5 separate regions of the Homo sapiens genome follow, and regions 1, 2, 3 and 5 are each linked to region 4. Evidence: promoter capture Hi-C in 16 types of primary human blood cells and fetal thymus (Javierre and others, 2016). All regions are on one chromosome and are shown on one strand. Each heading gives the region's core, a stretch centred on a gene start or on the middle of the fragment in contact. The rest is flanking DNA. Distances are from core to core; before and after follow the strand shown. Region 1 overlaps ANGEL2 (angel homolog 2). Region 2 overlaps LINC01740 (long intergenic non-protein coding RNA 1740). Region 3 overlaps NSL1 (NSL1 component of MIS12 kinetochore complex). Region 4 holds the start of INTS7 (integrator complex subunit 7). Region 5 holds the start of ANGEL2 (angel homolog 2).

Region 1 (3,772 bases), core at 296-2,795, 960 kb before region 4:
AAATGTTTGTTGGATAAGTTTCTTTTTTAATTTTATTTTCCTTCAAGGCATAAAAGATCCTTAAGATTCATAAAGTATCACTAGAAAATAGTCTTTAAACCTTTTACTCATAACATCACATATATTTGTGCATGGGGCAAATATAATAAACCATTAGAGAAGCTGTTTTAAGATGCAGTACAAAATTATATGTGATAGCAAGAAAAATTAGAGAAGAATATGGCCTCTCTGTCATCAAAAGTCTAGAGGATTCCAAATAGTGTTCCTGAAGACCCCCTTGATTCTCTTTCTTAAAAACACAATAAAACTTGTTAGAATACATGTTCTTTAGTAAGTGGAGGCATTCACACGTTATAAATAATGAAAAAACACATTAGTATGTTAATTATTGAGCTTTTTTTAAAAACCACATTTATAATGGCTTTATTGATGGGTTTTAGATATCACTGCATAAGTAAATTAATACTAAATTATGATATGGTCTTTTTAAATAAAGCTTGTCCTAATGTTTGGTCTTAGTCTAGAAATTAAGTGAAAAAGAAATTCAGATAGGAGGAATTCTTGAAGTTACAAAAACTCGGATTCTAAACACTTCTTCTTTTCTATTTAGATTGTCTTCAAATTTACAGCACCATTTCAGTTTGTCATCTGTTTATTCACATTACTTTCCTGACACTGGAATTCCAGAAGTGACCACCTGTCATTCCCGAAGTGCCATAACTGTGGATTATATTTTCTACTCTGCAGAAAAGGAAGATGTTGCTGGGCACCCAGGTAAGGAATGCATGTAATCTTAAATTCTCCTAGAGAGCACAGTAGCTAAAACCTCAAGGTTAAAGTTAAGAAAGCTCTCTAAACATCCAGTTGAAGTTCTAGATCTAGAAGGTAAAAATATTTCGAAATAGACAGATTGGTAATATATTTGAATAAATCAGTTGATTACTTGCATATGAGGGAGGCAATAAAACACATCCAAGCAAATTATTACCCAAGAATTACATTAGCAGTCCTACCCTCCAGTTCCAGTCAGCCTCTGAGTTATAGGTCTTTCATATTGCCCTTTCTTTTTGCTTGCCATAAATTTACTGTTTTTCCTGTGACAGGAACTGAGTATGTTGTTAATGGTCATCATAGTTTTGTGCTTAAATTTTACCGAGGCGTCCTGCCTTCATTGGAGGACCATAGTTACACTGCCAGCAACACAGCTTATGCTGTCATGTTGACTCTGGAATATTGGATTTTTCTGAGGAGGAAAAGTATATATATATATATATATATATATATATATTTTTTTTTTTTTTTTTTGGATACAGAGTCTCGCTCTGTTACCCAGGCTAGAGTGCAGTGGCATGATTCTCGGCTTACTGCAACCTCTGTCTCCCGGGTTCAAGTGACCTTCCCACCTCAGCTTCCCGAGTAGCTAAGACTACAGGCATGAGCCACCATGCCCACCTAATTTTTGTATTTTTTGTAGAGACAGGGTTTCACCGTGTTGCCCAGGCTGGTCTCAAACTCCTGGGCTCAAGCCGTCCACCTCGGCCTCCCAGGGTGGCTTGGATTACAGGCATGAGCCACCACATTCGGTCAGAAAAGTCTATATAATTTTTTTGTTTGTTTGTTTTTGAGACGGAGTCTCGCTCGTCGCCCAGGCTGGAGTGCAGTGGCGCTATCTCAGCTCACTGCAAGCTCCGCCTCCCAGGTTCACACCATTCTCCTGCCTCAGCCTCCCGAGCCACTGGGACTACAGGCGCCCGCCACCATGCCCGGCTAATTTTTTGTATTTTTAGTAGAGACGGGATTTCACCGTGTTGGCCAGGATGGTCTCGATCTCCTGACCTCATGATCTGCCTGCCTCGGCCTCCCAAAGTGCTGGGATTACAGGCGTGAGCCACTGTGCCCGGCCGAAAATCAGGTTTTAAACATTAGCCAAAGGATTTAAAGTGGAGAAGAAAATGCAGTTTAAGATTACTGGAAGTACAAAAATACCTTTAAGAAAACTTTGGAATGTGAGCAGCTGTTTTATTCTTTTCTGATTTTTTTCATTTTTTTCTCTTCCATTTTTTTGGATGCTTCTTTTTCTTTACCCTTTTCCCCTCTGTTTGTTCCCCCCTCCTTTCTTCTGGGAATAACCTTATTAGTAACACTCACGAGATGACTTATTCCTGCCACTAGATCTACTCTACAAAAAATATGCCTGCTGCTTTGAATTTATAGTAAGGTTTTCGTAGTTGTCATGCTGACAGAAGTTCACTTGGTGGCAGGAGAGTGTTATGGATCAGCATTTCAAAAAGAGCATGTCATCTTCACTTCTGTGGGTGCTGACTATCTGGGACTAAATTATACTAATTTATTCTCCATTCACCTTATAAACTGCTACAGGGCTGTGGCCCGGTGTCTCTGGCTTTATGCAACTACAGAATGGTTGCTGGATGAGTTTCTTATGTAGTTGTCAACCACAAATTACCCTTAACATTCTTAAGTATTTCATTTATATTTTCTTCTAAAGATTGTTTACAGAGCTGGAAATAGAAAAAATATCTCAAACTGCTGTGTGTTTGATAATTATAATTAGGTTATAATTCAATAAAGCTTAGATATTCTAAAAACTGTGTCATAGTTTTTAGTCTTCTGGAGGGGCCTCAAGTTCTATATTTGTTTGGAGAAAAGACTTGTATGATTAATTTACAATAACCCGTTGACAATTTTACTAAATATGTGTGTGCTTCTTTAATGTAGGAGCTGAAGTTGCTTTGGTTGGTGGCTTGAAACTTCTAGCTAGACTGTCACTTCTTACAGAACAAGACTTATGGACTGTTAATGGACTTCCAAACGAAAATAACTCTTCAGATCATCTGCCTTTATTGGCAAAGTTCAGACTTGAGCTCTGACTCTCTTTGATCACATACTAATTTTCTTTCCAATTTGTATTGTTTTTCAAAGAATGTAAAGTTCTTAAGTGTATGCATGTTGTTTATTTTTGCACTGTGGAGATTCTGAAGCGGTTATGTTAGATGCTTTGAAACTCCATATCAGAAGAAATAACTTTATAACAATTTTTTTTAATAATGAAAAATATTTTCGTGACAAGTGAGCTCTAAATTCTCTTTATTGTAAAAGAGATGTAAAGGTTTTATATTCTAAATCCTAGTAAAATTGACAGTGATTTTTAAATATAATGCATCTTCCTTTGTCTGCTTAGTAAAAAATTTCATTTCATAATTTTGGCAAGCTCTGTAGTGGATCCAAAGTATCTTTGAGTTCTTGCAAACTACAAGTTGTTTCCTTTCCAGAAGGCTTGATTTCATTAGGAGACCCCTCTATTGAGTTCTAAATAGTTTATCTTAGAAAGCCTTGGGTCATTCACAGGTATCCAACCAGCCATTGTTTAGTTTGTTTTTGAAGGGGTTTGATAATGCTTTTTAAGTTGTACAGAATGCTTAATCCATCTTATTACTGTCCTGAGCCATGTAATATGCCTGCATCGTGTTGGGGAAATGTTTGGGAAATATAAGCCAGCATAACGTGTAAAGCTCACTCTTTCACCCTGGAACAGACAAGAGGTGGGCTTAATAGAGGCAGAGACTGGGGATATACCTTTGTTTCCCTAGCATTTTTATTTATTTATTTTTATTTTATTTTATTTTTTGAGATGGAGTTTCACTCTTGTTGCCCAGGCTGGGGGTGCAATGGCGCAATCTTTGCTCACTGCAACCCCTGCCTCCCGGGCTCAAGCGATTCTCCTGCCTCAGCCTCTCGAGTAGCTGGGATTACA
Region 2 (3,801 bases), core at 576-3,075, 520 kb before region 4:
TGTGATATTTACTTTACTGCAGTGGTCTTGAACCAAACCTGCAATATCTCTGAGGCATGCCTGTGTGTGCACATATATGATTTATTATAAGGAATTGACTTATGCAGTGATGGAGGCTGGCAAGTCCCAAGATCTGCAAGGTGAGTAAGCAAGCTTGAGACCTAGGAGAGCTGATGGTGTAGTTCTAGTCCAAGTCCAAAGGCAGGAAAAAGCCCATGTCACAGTTCAAAAGTAGGAAGAATTCACTCACTTTGGGGAGGGTCAAACTTTTCATTCTATTCAGGCCTTTAAATGATTGGATAAAGCCCACCTACATTATAGAAGGCACTCTGCTTTCGTCTGTCAATTTAAATGTTAGTCTCATCCAAAACACCCTTACAAAGATAACCCCAGAATAATGTTTGACCAAAATATCTGGGCACCCCATAATCCAGTCAAGTTTGACACAGAATTAACCGTCACACTGACCTATCTGATTTCTAAAGATCTTGGCCTTAAAATTGTGACTTTGGTCTCTAAGGCAATTATGAGGGTGAGTTCTTTGTAAATGGTTTCTCGGATGTATTTGCTTCTATTGAAACCTTAGTAGAGAGGACCCGTCATTTAATTACCTCTTCCTATGTTCTTGATAGTCTTTATTTTTAAAATCTAGTTCAGTTGAATATAATAATTTCTTTCACCTTTTTTAGAAGCTGAGCTACAGTTATGTTTTAGGAAGCTAGTTGATCTATCCAGTAATCTATCAAGTAATGTTGATCTGTCAAGCAAGTTAATCTATCAAGTAATGAAGCTAGCTGGTATTAAATAATTCTTTGTTTTTAACTATTAAATACAGGGCTTTGGGTATGTAATATAAGCAGCATTATGGTAATATTCTGGAAGTTTCAATTATTGCAATGATTGAGAGCATTAGAGTGTTATTTTCTGTTTGAGATATTTTTTAAGATAGTGTTGCTTCAGGAACATTGTAGTCATAATATTTTGCAGTCTAAATCCTTATTTTAAAAAATCTCATAACTTTTTATATCCTATTTAAAAGTATTGATATTGATATATTGGATTGGATTATTAGCTTTATAAATAAATACAATCACTGGACCTCTGTCAGTCCCAAAAACAAAACTTGTTTTGCACCTAAATTGTTTATTTTATTTTATTTTATTTTTAGCTGAGTAGTTAAGATTTCAGGCCTTTTTAAAAAGTCATGTGTTTAGGTATAATTTACATGCAGTAAAATTCACCCTTTTAGGTATAAAGTTCTGGAATTTTGACAAACATAGTCATGTAATCATTACCACAATCAAGACAAAACATTTCCATCACCCCAGGAAGTTCCCTTGTGCTCCTTTGCAGTCAATCCCATTCCTGAAAATAAAATTTTAAATAAAATTAATAAAACTTTCTAAAAACATGTCTGATTCATGCCACTGTCTGTCACCATCATAAATGGACTTACTTGGTCTCAATATGGAATTCACAAGTTATCACATCAGTCGAATAATTATGTTCTTGCTGATTTAGTCAAAGTGAGATCATTCAGTGCTCAATGGATGGCTGCATACTAACATTTAAGACTTGAGAGGATACAGCACAGCAGGGGACTATCATGATGACTGTTAGATAGGATTTGGTATTTAGGATAACACCAAAAAATGAAGCGTATTCCTTAACAGGAGCCCTGAGGGACCAAATTGATCCAAATCAAACAAGTCAAAGCTTAGGTAAGTAATATAGGCAGCTTAACAGTATTTGAGTCCATTTGGCCATAATCCTTATTCAAAGTGTGATGGAAATTAAGGACCACAGCTTGCTATAGAATGATCTGATTTAAATAAGTATCCAATTTTGTCATTAACTTGATAACACAAGCCTTAGTAACCTGGAGACCCACTAGAAGAACATAGATTAGAAAACCCTGGAAAAGCCAAGCTTGCCATCCACCACTCAGGATTCCTGCAAACCAACTGTTAGCTGCTGCCATGGACACAGCATGTGTTCCTTTCCCTTAAGAAATTTCCTTCATGTATTTGATGGCAGTGTCTAAAGAAACAGCAGTTTCACCTTTGTTTTTAGTTAAGCTTCCTCTAGTAACAAAATTAGGGGACAGACAGGCACAATATTCAGTTTTGTCAATACTATATACAAGCCTCCAATTTGGGCGAAAAGAAGCTCTAAGTCCACATGATGTTCCAGTAAATGTTTTTTCTTAAAACATATGCTGTCTGGGCGCAGTGGCTCATGCCTGTAATCCCAGCATTTTGGGAGGCCAAGGCGGGTGGATCACGAGGTCAGGACTTCAAGACCAGCCTGGCCGAAATGATGAAACCCCGTCTCTACTAAAAATACAAAAATTAGCCGGGCGTGATGGCACGCGCCTGTAATCCCAGCTAGTCGGGAGGCTGAGGCAGAGAATTGCTTAAACCCAGGAGGCAGAGGTTGCAGTGAGCCGAGATTGCCCCACTGTACTCCAGCCTGGGTGACTCCATCTCAGAAAAAAAAAAAAAAAGTATATATGCCATCATCCACCTTTCTCAAAGGATGACTTCTGCCCGTTTGAACCTCTGGGAGTTCTGGTTAGCCACAAAGTCCAGGATTTTTCCCCAATTTATGGATTGGTTTCAAATTCCATATGACTGATACACTACTACTGCCAAGAGTGAGCCCTCAAGAACCCCATTGGAATCATTCCTCAGTGGAAACTAGCTTATCTTCATAAGCCTAACAGTTGCTCTGGTTTTTTGCTAGAGCATAAGCCTTACCTAAAGCCATCCATAGATTATGGTTCCATGGATTTTCCTGCAAGGAAAAGGAAGTAATTAGGACATAAGGAAACAGGGGAGAAAGAAAAAAGATAGACCACAGTAAACAATTGCCAGCTGAGAATAACAAGACTTCAAATGTTCATAGTTAAAGATCTGATGAGAGTTCATTACGATGATAACACAATTGAGAAGGGAATTTGGTTATTTCTGTTGCATGCAACATTTTAAGATAGTAACCAGAATTATGACTGATAATGTTATTCCAGAACTATCAAATTTCTATGAATTTCACACAATTTCTGAAATATGTTAATAACACATTCATACAAATATAATCCAAAGAAGGTTTAGCCTTACTTCTTATTTGGCAATGCTTCCCGTATAATTTAATATACCAAGTAAGCCCAATTAGCTTAATATTTCTCTTTTCATAAGGAGAAAATCAACTTACAAAAGGCAGATTAATGGGAGAAAAAGCATACAAACTTATTAGCATGCATAGGGGAACTATCATAGAGTGATTACGCCACCATGCAATGGGACACAGATGCTTGTATATACCCTTCTTCTTAGGAGAAAGGGAGATGGGGAAGTGTGGATGATTTTAGGGTAGTAGTAAATGAATTTTGGGGAATTCAGTAGGCGTGAGGAACATACAATGGCCTGAGACAAAGTCTGTTGGGCCCGCAGAGCAGACAATGGTTTGTGACAAAAGTCTGTCCAAATTTGTTGACAAACTTCAGTTTTTCTTCCTGTGATATGAGTTCAGTTACTGAAAACTCAGGGAAGGGACCACAGGTAATTGTTTTCTTCTTTGGTGGACCCAAACTTTAGGCAGATCAGGGAACTTCAGAGAACAGATTGGCCTTGTGCTCTGGGAGAGAGTGCGGAGAGGGGTGGGGCATGCCAGAGAGACCTTGAGAGGCTTCATCTGAAGTTCAGCATGTTAAAGTGCCATACTTTAGGGTGTTGGTTTCTGAACCCCAGCACCATTGAAGGAGTTCAGGAAATGCCACCCCAAAATATGTATATTGGTATA
Region 3 (3,905 bases), core at 59-2,558, 720 kb before region 4:
GGTTTCAAAGTCTTGAACTCGGGTGATCCTCCCACCTCGGCCTCCCAAAGTTCTGGGATTACAGGCATGAGCCACTGCGCCCAGCCCCTGACTCTTAAGATTATTTTCTGACATGGTACACTCAATAAATATTTATATTTTTGCAAACAATACATAATTTTATATAAATAGGATTGAATTACATATTACATTGTCCCTTTTAAAAACCAAAGTCGGCCGGATGCAGTGGCTCACACCTGTAAGCCCAGCACTTTGGGAAGCTGATCGCTTGAGCACAGGAGTTTGAGACCAGCTAGGGCAACATGGCAAAACCCCGTCTCTACAAAAAATACAAAAATTAGCCAAGCATGGTGGTGCATGCCTGTAGTTCCAGCTACTCGGGAAGCTGCAGAGGGAGGATCATTTGAACCCAGGAGGTCAAGGCTGCAGTGAGCTATGGTCCTGCCACTACACTCCAGCCTGAGTGACAGAGTGAGAACCTGTCTCAAAAAAACCCAACAAGGATAGCATTGTATTTTTACTTTTTGTTTTTGGTTTCTTCTCTCTCTTCCTGTCACCCCTTTAGATATCCAACATTAACCTGGTATGAATTCATTTATCCTTTTTTCTGTGCTTATATAATTGTTACAGGAATAAATATGCACTGGACATTTTGGGGGCATAATTTACAGAAAATTTATTCATGTGTTCAAATTATCTGCAATTTCCTAGCTTAAGTTTATGGTAGACATCCTCCATTCGACTGCCGTAGCTCTAACCTTATTGTTTTAAATTGTGGTTATCTTTTAAATTGTATTTCTTGTGCTTTTAATAAATGCAAGCTTAATGTAAAATTTTTAATAATTACATATAGATATATATGAAAATATATACATATTCATATTTATATGAAATATACCATAACTTCGCCTCCCAATCTGTCACATCCCACACATCTTCAAATAGGCAACTATTATCAGTTTGCTGTGTCTAATTTTAGATCTTTATCAATGCATTTGTATGCACATAGGTAGACACAGGGGTTTTTTTAGTTGTTTATATAAATATTACATAATGCATTTTATTCTGTCATTGTTTTTCTTTTTTCACTCAACATGTAACATAGTTCAACTCCATGGTTTTTATTGGTAATTTTTTTCTTGCTTATATACACAGAGACAATTTTATTTAAATAATATTATATATGTATTTTTGTTTTTTGTGAGAGATTATTTGGTTTTGCTAGATTCCTCTTTTCTCCCATCTTCCATTAACATCTCCATATATACTTTTATCTGAGGACTCCTATATTCTAGAAAATCTTTAACCTAATCCTTCAACTTTGCTTCTTTCTCATTTCTTCTATTTTTGTATTTTATGTTTTTATTTTATAACCTATTTTTCTTTTGCAATGTCTTATGATTTTCTTTAGCTATTGGAGCTGTGTAGCATTTTAAAGTCATTTTTATATTGCTCTATTTTCATTTCATCTGCAGTAAATTCCTCTCCCTGACATTGGTTATACTGGCTGTCTTTCATGGTTTTAATTTCTTCATGTATTTTAGACTTTTGATTTGCAAGTGCTTCTTGACTAGAATTTTTCATGTGCATATCTGTCTACCACTGCTTTCACTCCCTCTGTCTAGTAGGTTTGGTTGCCTTCCATCTGGCCCCAAACAATCCCAGGCTGGAGCCATATCTTAACACTGGCAACAGAGGGCCTCTGTCCCAGTGTGACACTGGAGATTGGTCCAGGCCCAGGCTTGGAGGCATTATCTGCTTCCCATCATTTCTGGTTTAGCTTTAAGTAAGCTTTGCTTCCTGGCAGCGGTTAGGAGCAGTTTTGTCTTTTGAGTTGGTTTTTTTTTTTTTTTTGAGACAGAATTTTACTCTTGTTGCCCAGGCTGGAATGTAATGGTTGCTCACTGCAACCTCTGCCTCCTGGGTTCAAGTGATTCTCCTGCCTCATCCTCCTGAGTAGCTGGGATTACAGGTGCCCACCACCACGCCCGGATAATTTTTGTATTTTTAGTAGAGGCGGGGTTTCACCATGTTGGCCAGGCTAGTCTCCAACTCCTGACCTCACGTGATCCACCCATCTCAGCCTCCTTAAGTGCTGGGATTACAGGTGTGAGCCACCGCGCCGGGCTGGTTAGTGGCAGTTTTTTTCAGCCACCTTTTCAGGGTGGGTAAACTCTGTCTCAGCCCTCGGTTTCAAACAGTGAAGCTGTCTCTTCGTTTCCTGTTCTTCTGGAGCACTTCGAACACCTTTTATCTTGCAGGAGGCCAATTCCTGGCTACTTCTGCTTACCGGTAGGCCTGCAGCTTTAGCCTGACTTGCAGCTTTTTCTCTTCTCCTTTTTTTCTGGTTCATTGAAATGTTTTATTTTGTATATGCTTTAGGATATGTCATTTTAATTTTCTATATTCACTGATGCTTTTGGACATAGGAAGGGAGTTTTATGCACTACTGAAATCAACTTGACTAGGAAGTCTTAGGATACTTTTAAAAATGCAAATCAGTTTTCAGTCCTCTGCTTAAAATCCTAAACTCTAGACTTTTAGCATTCCCTTAGGTGATCTGGCCCCTACCTACCTCTCCAGATTTATTTCAGGCACTTTCCTGTTTGCTGCCAGTCTTTCAGTTCTTTGAAAGTGCCTCACTGTCACACATGCATGCCCCCTTGCCCAAGTTTGACATCTTCCCAGTTCTCTTTTCTCATTTAAATGTTACCTCCTCAGAGAGATCTTACCTAACCACCCTCATTAAAATACTCTCCCCAGTTGTTTATCATGACACCTGTTTATTTCCTTAATAGTACTTGTTACAGCTTATAAGTATTTGTGTTTATTTTCTTGTTTATGCTCTCTCACAAAACTGAAAGCTCCATGAGTTTTTTAATATTATATTTACATTATATATAGCCAGCATATAGCAGCATGCCCAATAAATACATCATGAGTGACTGTTACTCATTGGTCCATTCAGTTGTATATATTGAATGGCTACAGTATGACAGAACTGTTCTCAATGTGGCAGATGTAATATTAGTGAGCAGCACAAAGTTCTTACTCTATAGAGTTTATATTTTAGTGGGAGAAGAAAAGTAATAAATATAAAAATAAATAAGTGACATCAGTGCTTTAGGGTGGTGTGTTTAGGTGATGGGGAAACACTTTTCTGAGGTAGTAACAGGAAGGAATTTATCTGGTGATGATCAAGAAAAAGAGCTGTCAAGCAGAGGGAAGAGCTAGAATAAAGTTCTTAAATCAAGAATGAGCTTGAGTATTCATGGAACAAAAGACCAGAGAGGCTGTAGTGAAGTGAGTAATAGAGGGAAGAAGCATTGCAAGACAATGTCAAAAACTTGGCTGAGGCCAGATAATAACGAGCGAGGGTCAGGAGTTTGAAAGTGTGCCTTAAGAGAGGTGCAACATGGTACTGAAGGAGGTGGTGAGGTGTAGGTGGGAAGGTGTGCTGCAGAGGATTTCATCTACTGAGCAAATGGGTTCAACACATCTCTATAAATTGTAGCAAAGGGTTATCTTTCAGAAAATCACAAATCACTGCTGTGTTTTTGGTTTCATTTTCACCAGGGATGCTGCTTTCTAATTCTTGGTTCTAATGGCTTAATTACCTCTTTAGAAACCAGTAGAAGCCACACATCTGATGCTGTGCGTGATTGCTTGTTTATATTCATAAAATACATTGGAAATAGAAAGGAAGTACTCACTTAGTGCTTTTTTTTTTTTTTGCTGAATTTCTGAATTTGGGCAGGCTTTTGGAAGTTCATGTTTCCTAGTTTAGTCAGTACAGTGACCTGAAAGCAAAACTAGGTTGATTACTCAATCTTTCATTTCCACTTTTTCATTTCCCTGTGTTTTAGAAAGCAAGTGACTAGGGAAGGCAGTGTTCTCAAGGATGC
Region 4 (3,615 bases), core at 427-2,926:
ATGGAGAATTAGGAGAAAATCTGTCACAAAATAGAGGCTGAACAGCTCCCCCAGAACACACATATAGTAAGGTGTGGAAGTATAATAAAACCCAGGCAGTTTAACTTCAAAGACAGAGTTCTTAGCCACTGTGCGTACTGTCACTCTTAAACAGAGGACAAAGAAGTTACTCAAACAAGGTCCCAGGAGAGACAGAAAGAGGAGCATTTAAGTATAATTACAAAGATTATCTAAGAGGGAAATAAATAAGGATGGTATAAAGTTTCAGACTGCTAGCAGGAAGTTGAGGGACTACTTCTCAGTCTCTTTCTCAATATTATTTTCCTAGACTCATCGCTGAATATAAAAATTCCCTTCTCAGGTTCGTTTTCCACATAGTTTCAAGGGGAAAAAGAACCTCTGGCTATAGTCGACCTTCACATGAGTGAGATTTTATTTCTGTCCAAGGTTAATCTGGGTAGTTAGCTCCCTTATCTGAAACTTACCAAAAAGTTTAAGTTGATGACATCCAAATCTAACCTCAAATCTCTTATTGCCAATGTTTTAGCGTAAGAAAATAAGTTAGATTTCTACGTATTAACATGGGAATACGTTCAACTTATACCATTAAAGTGAAAAAACTGGACGTTTTGATCCGATTTCTGAAAATAATAGGTATTACCTCTAGCGTCGAAAACATCTGGAATAATATACTTCAATCTATTAACAGGGGTCATCTCTGGCGGATGTGGTTACAGGCATCTTTCACTCTATAATTTAAATTTTTATGACCGTGTAGTAAACGGGGAAAATAAGATTTTGTTCCTGTTAGAAGCAGATATCCTGTCTTCTCTGCTTGACTGAGTTCCTTAACAGCGGGTCATATTCACTGGTATATACCTATAGCACATAGCTGGGCTCACTAAGATTCTACAACAAACGAATGAATTAATCAATGATTAGGAGTTTTGAGCATCTCAAATAACCGTTGAAGGAAACATATACACACAAATGCATGCATTTTCCCGTTAACGCGCAATGGAGATGTAAGCTGTAAGGGGCCTTGGAAGGCAGTTATTTCGACGTCCCTGCCTACGTTACGATTTTAAAAGCCCGATTACGATTACAAGTGTCCCGAGGGGATGAAAGTACAGCTTTCTTTAGTAGTCCCTGCTAACACTAATTTACCCTTGCCATGGGAGAACTCAGAAGCTGAGTTCAGAATTGGAGTCGGCCCTGGTCGGAGGTGGCGTGTGTTTCGGGGGAAATGAATTCCGCCAGCTCCGAGCAGCGGTTGGGACCGTTACTCACCATTTCTCAGGACGCCAAGCTGGGGCTGGCGGAGCACCGAATTGAAGAGCATCAGGGTCGGAGGAAAAGCCTCAGCTGAGAGAAAAGTCGTAGAAATGCCTCCAAGTTCAGCAGAAATCGCAGCTTGCGCCTCTCACAACACAAATCGTTATCGCCTCCAACTCCCGCCACTGTAAGCCCCGGCCGCCAAACTCCGCGCCAAACTGACGTCACGCTCTCTGATTGGCTTCCGAGCGACGTCCGGGCGCCTCAGAGTCATTTCCCCCTTCGGATCCCCGCCTCCTTTTCTCCCAGCCGCGGGAACCTGGAGTCCAAGAGCTCCTTGAGCGCCTGCGCAGGGGGTAGCAGAGGCGCGGACAAACCGCGGGGTGACCAGGGCGCATGCGTAACAGGGCTTGACAGCGCGCGGAAGAAAAACCAGCAAGAAGGCGGCGGGGGAAGATGGCGGTCCTGGGGTAGAGTTTGCAAGCTTTCTGACTAGGCTAGTCGAGTAACTATTCGGGTCATGGCGTCAAACTCAACTAAGTCTTTCCTGGCAGATGCCGGCTATGGCGAACAGGAACTGGATGCCAACTCTGCCCTTATGGAATTGGACAAAGGTATTCGAAAGAGAGGGCTGAATGGGTGAAACAGGCGTGGGGGGAAGTGGCGCCACCAGGTGGTGGTTGCTTTGGGAGAAGACGGATAGGCGCATGCGCATGTCTTCGCTGGGCGGGGAGCGCCTGTGCTTTTGCTGGGGCGTGGGCTTTGACCCCTTCGGGAGGTTGCGGGAAATTTGCAGGATTGTGTGACTGGCCTTATACCGGCTAAACAAGTAGCGAGCTCTAGTGAGAGGCCCGTTTTGACCACTTGAGGGAGCAGTCCCCCGATTTTCTAAGCAGTGACAGTGGCTAGTTTCTAAGAGACACTGCAAAGAAATTGTGAAATTGGTTTTCAGTCTGTTCAGTTGAGACCAGGTCTTCATGAAATGTGCTGAATAGTAATCTTGCACCGACTTGACAGCGATTCATTTGATTTCCATAGCTCTGTTACCTGCGGGTTACAAGGCAGGCTAAACCTGGCCAAGACCATAAAAAAGCAAGGGCCCTGCTCATTCTCTGCGGACAAGTTCCAGGAGTTCTGTTGCCGTACAGGGAGCAGCTTGGTGTAGAGGGAGCTTTGGGGTTACACTGAGTTAAGTTTCAATGCCGCTGATTTTATGATTAACTTCATCTAGCCTCGGCTTGTCGTCTGCAAAGTGGGTACAGTACCATTGAGCCGGCAGAATTGTATTAAGTGACTTAATGGTATGCAAAAGAAGCATTTAGTAAATGCTGAAGAGATATACCTCCCTTCTTAGATGTGGATATGGGAGGCAAGGTCGGAAATTTGTTAGTAAAGAACTCGACTAGTAATATGAAACCTTTATTTCATATTGAGGATTTTTATTGTACGGGAAACATTTCGGCAGCTGGTATACAATTAAATCTTGATTAATCGTAGCCAATATATAATGTTGGAGAACTGGACTAGAACTCAGAAGGGTTTGAGCCACTTCCCAGTTTTCTGAGTTGGACATGTCTATTAACTTTTTTGGGACTCTTTTTCTGTTTATTTTTTAAACTGTGAATATTTTTAGTGGGTTAGTCTAAATAAGAGTTTCTCAGGCTCTTAAAAAAGCTTTTACCTTATTTTGATAAACACAAAAATTTCACAGCCCCCTAATGGGATATTCCTTTGGTTGAGTCTCAGTATCTTTAGTGCACCCCCATCAACCAAGAAAATTATGTTGAACTTTTCCTTCTCTTACCAAATCTTTAGGGGTTTTCTCCTCTGAAAAAAAAAAGTATAATACTAAATGTGTTTTTCTCTTTTTTTTTGGAGACAGAGTGTTGCTCTGTTGCCCAGGCTAGAGTGCAGTGGCGCCATCTCGGCTCACTGCAACCTCCGCCTCCCGAGTTCAAACGGTTCTCCTGCCTCAGCCTCCCGAGTAGCTGGAATTACAGGCGCCCGCCACCACGCCCGGCTAATTTTTGTATTTTTAGTATAGACGGGGTTTCACCATGTTGGCCAGGCTGGTCTCCAACTCCTGACCTCAGGTGATCCGTCCGCCTCGGCCTTCCAAAGTGCTGGGATTTACAGGCATGAGCCACCGCGCCCGGCCTTAAATGTGTTTTTCAAACACTTTCCTCCTCATTCTGATACATTTCTTTCTTATTCCTCAGTGAAAGTTACAGGTCAGGATAATATCTAATATCCCTACGAGTTCTAAGGACATTTTCTACCATTCTGGTGCAGCTGAGCTTGTCTCATGCTGACAATAGGATAGTGGTTGTGGAACAGGGA
Region 5 (3,488 bases), core at 325-2,824, 980 kb before region 4:
CACGTTTTTGTACTTTTTGTTGATGTTGCTGTTTAAAATGGTCCCCAAGCGTTGTGCTGTATAGTGCTCCTAAGCACAAGAAGGCTGTCATGAGCCTTGCAGAGAAAATAGCAGTGTTAGATAAGCTTTGTTGAGGTATGAATTATAGTGCTGTTGACTGAGTTCAATGTTAATGAATCAACAATATATATTAAATAAGATGTCTTTAAGCGGAAACACACATACAACAAAACTATGTATTGATTAAGTTGATGAAAATGCGACCAGAGGCTTACAGGATCCTAATCCTGTATTTCCCTTAGGAGTAATGATTCAGTATTTACTAATTCAGTGTTTCCAGCAACTTTACAGAACCTAACTACTGCAAATAACAAGAATCAATTACATACTGAGGGAAAGGTTTTTTTCAAATACACTTTACTTCCTTTTATGCACCAGGGATAAGAAAAGCCTTCCCAAGAAATTACCACTGTTTCAAAGAGCCTATAAAAGCAGTGCTCCTGCCTTCTAGTATCCTTTTCCCCTCTACTCTCCACACTTTATTCTTTCTCGGTTTCTCTCTTCCTGTTTCTTGCAGGGTCTCCACTTAAATAATGTCTTTCAACAATCTACAGTCCTATAATACATTTAATAAAGGTGGACACACAAGACATACAAGTACTTTTTTTTTTTTTTTTTTTTTTTTTGAGACGGAGTCTCGCTCTGTCGCCCAGGCTGGAGTGCAGTGGCTCGATCTCTGCTCACTGCAAGCTCTGCCTCCCAGGTTCACGCCATTCTCCTGCCTCAGGCTCCCGAGTAGCTGGGACCACAGGCGCCCGCCACCACGCCCGGCTAATTCTTTGTATGTTTAGTAGAGACGGGGTTTCACCGTGTTAGCCAGGATGGTCTCGATCTCCTGACCTCGTGATCCGCCCGCCTTGGCCTCCCAGAGTGCTGGGATTACAGGCGTGAGCCACCGCGCCCGGCCCATACACGTACATTTTAAAGTGAGAGCTATGGCTGTGCTTCCGCAACATTAATTGCAAAATTCTGTGGTACCTCAGTTCCATGGGCACCCAGAGGATGCGTTGTTCAGCCTCAGCTGGGAATCTGCACTTTGGGCAATTAAAAATTTTCACTGCTCTGTTTATTTCTGCCGGGCGCGGTAGCTCACTCCTGTAATCCCAGCACTTTGGGAGGCCGAGGCGGGCGAATCACTTGAGGTCAGGAGTTCGAAACCAGCCTGGCCAACATGGTGCAACCCTGTCTCTACTAAAAATTCAAAAATTAGCCGGGTGTGGTGGCTCATGCCTGTAATCCCAGCTACTTGGCAGGCTGAGGCAGGAGAATCGCTTGAACCCGGGAGGTGGAGGTTGCAGTGAGCCGAGATCGTGCCATTGCACTACAGCCTGGGCGACAAGAGCGAAACTCCATCTCAAAAAAAAAAAAAGAAAGAAAGAAAGAAAAAGAAAAAAAAGAAAGTTTATTTCTGTTTCTTTAAGACGAAGTTCGGGTGTTTTGCCCTCTTCAGAAATGGTTGCACGCGCGTCCCACGCTCTGCGCATGCTCCTTGAGCAGAATTCCGGGTTAAGGCATTCAGGGACTCTGACTGCGCAAGATGGAGTGTAGGCCGGCCGGCGAGACTGCACCTCCCAGCATGCCTTGCAGCCAGGACTGGAGTCGGTACTTAAGAGTGATGGGGTTCCCTAGATACTTTAGGCCGTCGCATCGATTATAGAGATTGAGGTGGAACCCGGGGCCTGGGAACTGGACGCACGCGGAGGGCGAAGATGGAAGCCTGGCGCTGTGTGAGGAAGGGCTACGGCCACTGTGTGGTGGGAAGAGGCCGGTCAGTAGGGCTGGGTACTCGGAGGGAGGAGAGAGGGGCGGGCGGCCTGAAAGAGCGGGCGGGCGTCCGGGACTAACCCGGGGCGGGGCGGGGCGGGCTAGGGGTGGAAGGAAGAGGAAGAGGGTCTGGGCGATGGTGCATCCGGGACGAGCCTCCAGAGACCAAGCGGGATAGGTAAACCCGCCGCGCAGCTGGCGGGACGCTGGGCCAACGAGGTCTGGGGTCTTGGCGCGGAGTTCATGGGCCGCCGGCCAGGCTTGTGCCAGTGGCTTTGGATCCCTGGCCTGCTTCCCCCAACCCAGCCTCCAGACCAGCGCTGGCCTGCTCCACACACTCCGCAGCACCGTCCCGGGAACCGAGCGTCGGCGGGGAGGCCGCCTCTCCGCAGTAGGTCTCGGCGGGCCTGATCCCTTGGAGGCGCGTGTGTGGCACACGCCCAGGAGGGGCTTGATTTTTGTTGATGTGTTAGTGTCTTTCAAACTTTAGTCACTTGTATGTCATCCCTTACTGTTATGGCCAAGTTCTTGTTTCACGTGTATTATTTACTGGATATTTTTCTTTAAATTGACTCAGTTTTTTTTAAAAAGCACTTCAGTAGGTGCTGCCCACATTAGCTTCACCCTAAGCAGTGTCTGCAGAGTCTTGGATTTGATGTGCGATTATGTTTTTTCCTAATAAACTAACATAAGTATTTAGAAATTACAATCAAGTAATTTAACTGTGTACTCTGTGAAACCGACTCGTGTACCACCCACCACGCTTGGGAAACACAGCATGTATTATTACATAAGCGATGGGGATTTGGTTGTAACTCCCATAGGCCTGGGACTTGATGGTAATTCAGTTCAACAATGTTTCCTGAGTACCAGCTGTTTGCCAGGCACTGTGCTAGGCACTTGTGAAGATAACGGAATTAAAATGAATAAGACGGTTCTGTTCTGGCCCTGAAGGAGCTTAACATCTTAAGAGAAAAAAAAGTCTGAATAAATAACTGCAAATATAGATAATAGCTTTTGTAGTACAAGTATTATATTTCAATACAGTGGCTTATTAGCATAGAAAATGCATGGACCAAGTGCCCAAATTCCTATGGCTTTCAGAGTTATCACAAAGCAGTGTAGAATGCCCATGTTATGCCTTTAAAGATTTACAATTAAGTAGATTTTAGAGAACAACTAGCGAATACTTAAACTGTAAAAATTATAATAAAAATTTAAATGCTGTTAAAACGAGAATAACAGCGTATAAAGTTAAATAACAGTAAACGCAACTTAAACAAAATTCCCTTAGGGATGGGAGCGCACATTATTGATGCTGTGGTAGAAATGTAGCTGTTAAGAATTTTGGAGGAAAGGATAAAAGTCCTTCTCTGAATCTTAACATTTTGCCAAAGTAGTATAGTGAGAGGAACATGGTGCTTTATTAAGCTGAAGTGTTTCTTGAGAGCCTGAGAGCAACATACCTATTAAAAATGTTAGCGCCACTTTGGAGATGTTTTGGATGATGGGTTAAATTGAAGCTGTTGGTTTGGAGTGTTGGTGCATTCGTAGTACGTCATCCCCATCCTCTTTCATTTCCCCCAACGAGAATCATGCTTAAAAAAGAATGGAGAAATAAATTATCCACCCGTTGATTAGTAAGAGAAGTAGTTTTGTGAATT

The links. The method cuts DNA at HindIII sites, captures the fragments that hold promoters and counts their contacts. A CHiCAGO score of 5 or more calls a contact.
Region 1: a contact is called between a fragment that was not itself captured here and the fragment with the promoter of INTS7 in region 4, in 1 of 17 cell types (total B cells). The highest score is 5.1, in total B cells.
Region 2: a contact is called between a fragment that was not itself captured here and the fragment with the promoter of INTS7 in region 4, in 8 of 17 cell types (naive CD4 T cells, naive CD8 T cells, total CD8 T cells and 5 more). The highest score is 8.1, in naive CD4 T cells.
Region 3: a fragment that was not itself captured here is called in contact with the fragment with the promoter of INTS7 in region 4 in 1 of 17 cell types (M1 macrophages); the score reaches 5.2 in M1 macrophages.
Region 5: a contact is called between the fragment with the promoter of ANGEL2 here and the fragment with the promoter of INTS7 in region 4, in 8 of 17 cell types (naive CD4 T cells, fetal thymus, total B cells and 5 more). The highest score is 8.4, in naive CD4 T cells.

The regions. Positions count from the first base shown.
Region 1 is chr1:212,994,157-212,997,928 of GRCh38, reverse strand. ANGEL2 (angel homolog 2) reads left to right here. Exons shown (of 9, transcript NM_144567.5): 8 at 611-774; 9 at 2,737-3,772. The coding sequence ends at 2,888. Among named protein-coding and RNA genes, the nearest start is that of ANGEL2, 20 kb to the left of the region's middle. The HindIII fragment of the contact is 2,093 bases long and covers 499-2,591 here.
Region 2 is chr1:212,553,407-212,557,207 of GRCh38, reverse strand. It overlaps LINC01740 (long intergenic non-protein coding RNA 1740), which reads right to left. Exons shown (of 3, transcript NR_125985.1): 2 at 2,760-2,796; 3 at 1,142-1,365. Among named protein-coding and RNA genes, the nearest start is that of LINC01740, 9.6 kb to the right of the region's middle. The HindIII fragment of the contact is 213 bases long and covers 1,719-1,931 here.
Region 3 is chr1:212,752,719-212,756,623 of GRCh38, reverse strand. All of the region lies in intron 4 of NSL1 (NSL1 component of MIS12 kinetochore complex), which reads left to right. Among named protein-coding and RNA genes, the nearest start is that of NSL1, 37 kb to the left of the region's middle. The HindIII fragment of the contact is 970 bases long and covers 824-1,793 here.
Region 4 is chr1:212,033,618-212,037,232 of GRCh38, reverse strand. INTS7 (integrator complex subunit 7) reads left to right here and starts at 1,676. Exons shown (of 20, transcript NM_015434.4): 1 at 1,676-1,889. The coding sequence starts at 1,796. DTL (denticleless E3 ubiquitin protein ligase adapter) reads right to left here and starts at 1,485. Exons shown (of 15, transcript NM_016448.4): 1 at 1,291-1,485. The coding sequence starts at 1,342. RefSeq lists enhancers at 666-1,200, 1,216-1,455, 1,201-1,737, 1,616-1,825. The HindIII fragment of the contact is 8,834 bases long and covers 1-1,761 here.
Region 5 is chr1:213,013,953-213,017,440 of GRCh38, reverse strand. It overlaps ANGEL2 (angel homolog 2), which reads left to right and starts at 1,574. Exons shown (of 9, transcript NM_144567.5): 1 at 1,574-1,828. The coding sequence starts at 1,770. RefSeq lists enhancers at 1,539-1,848, 1,561-2,148, 2,149-2,737. The HindIII fragment of the contact is 5,816 bases long and covers 128-3,488 here.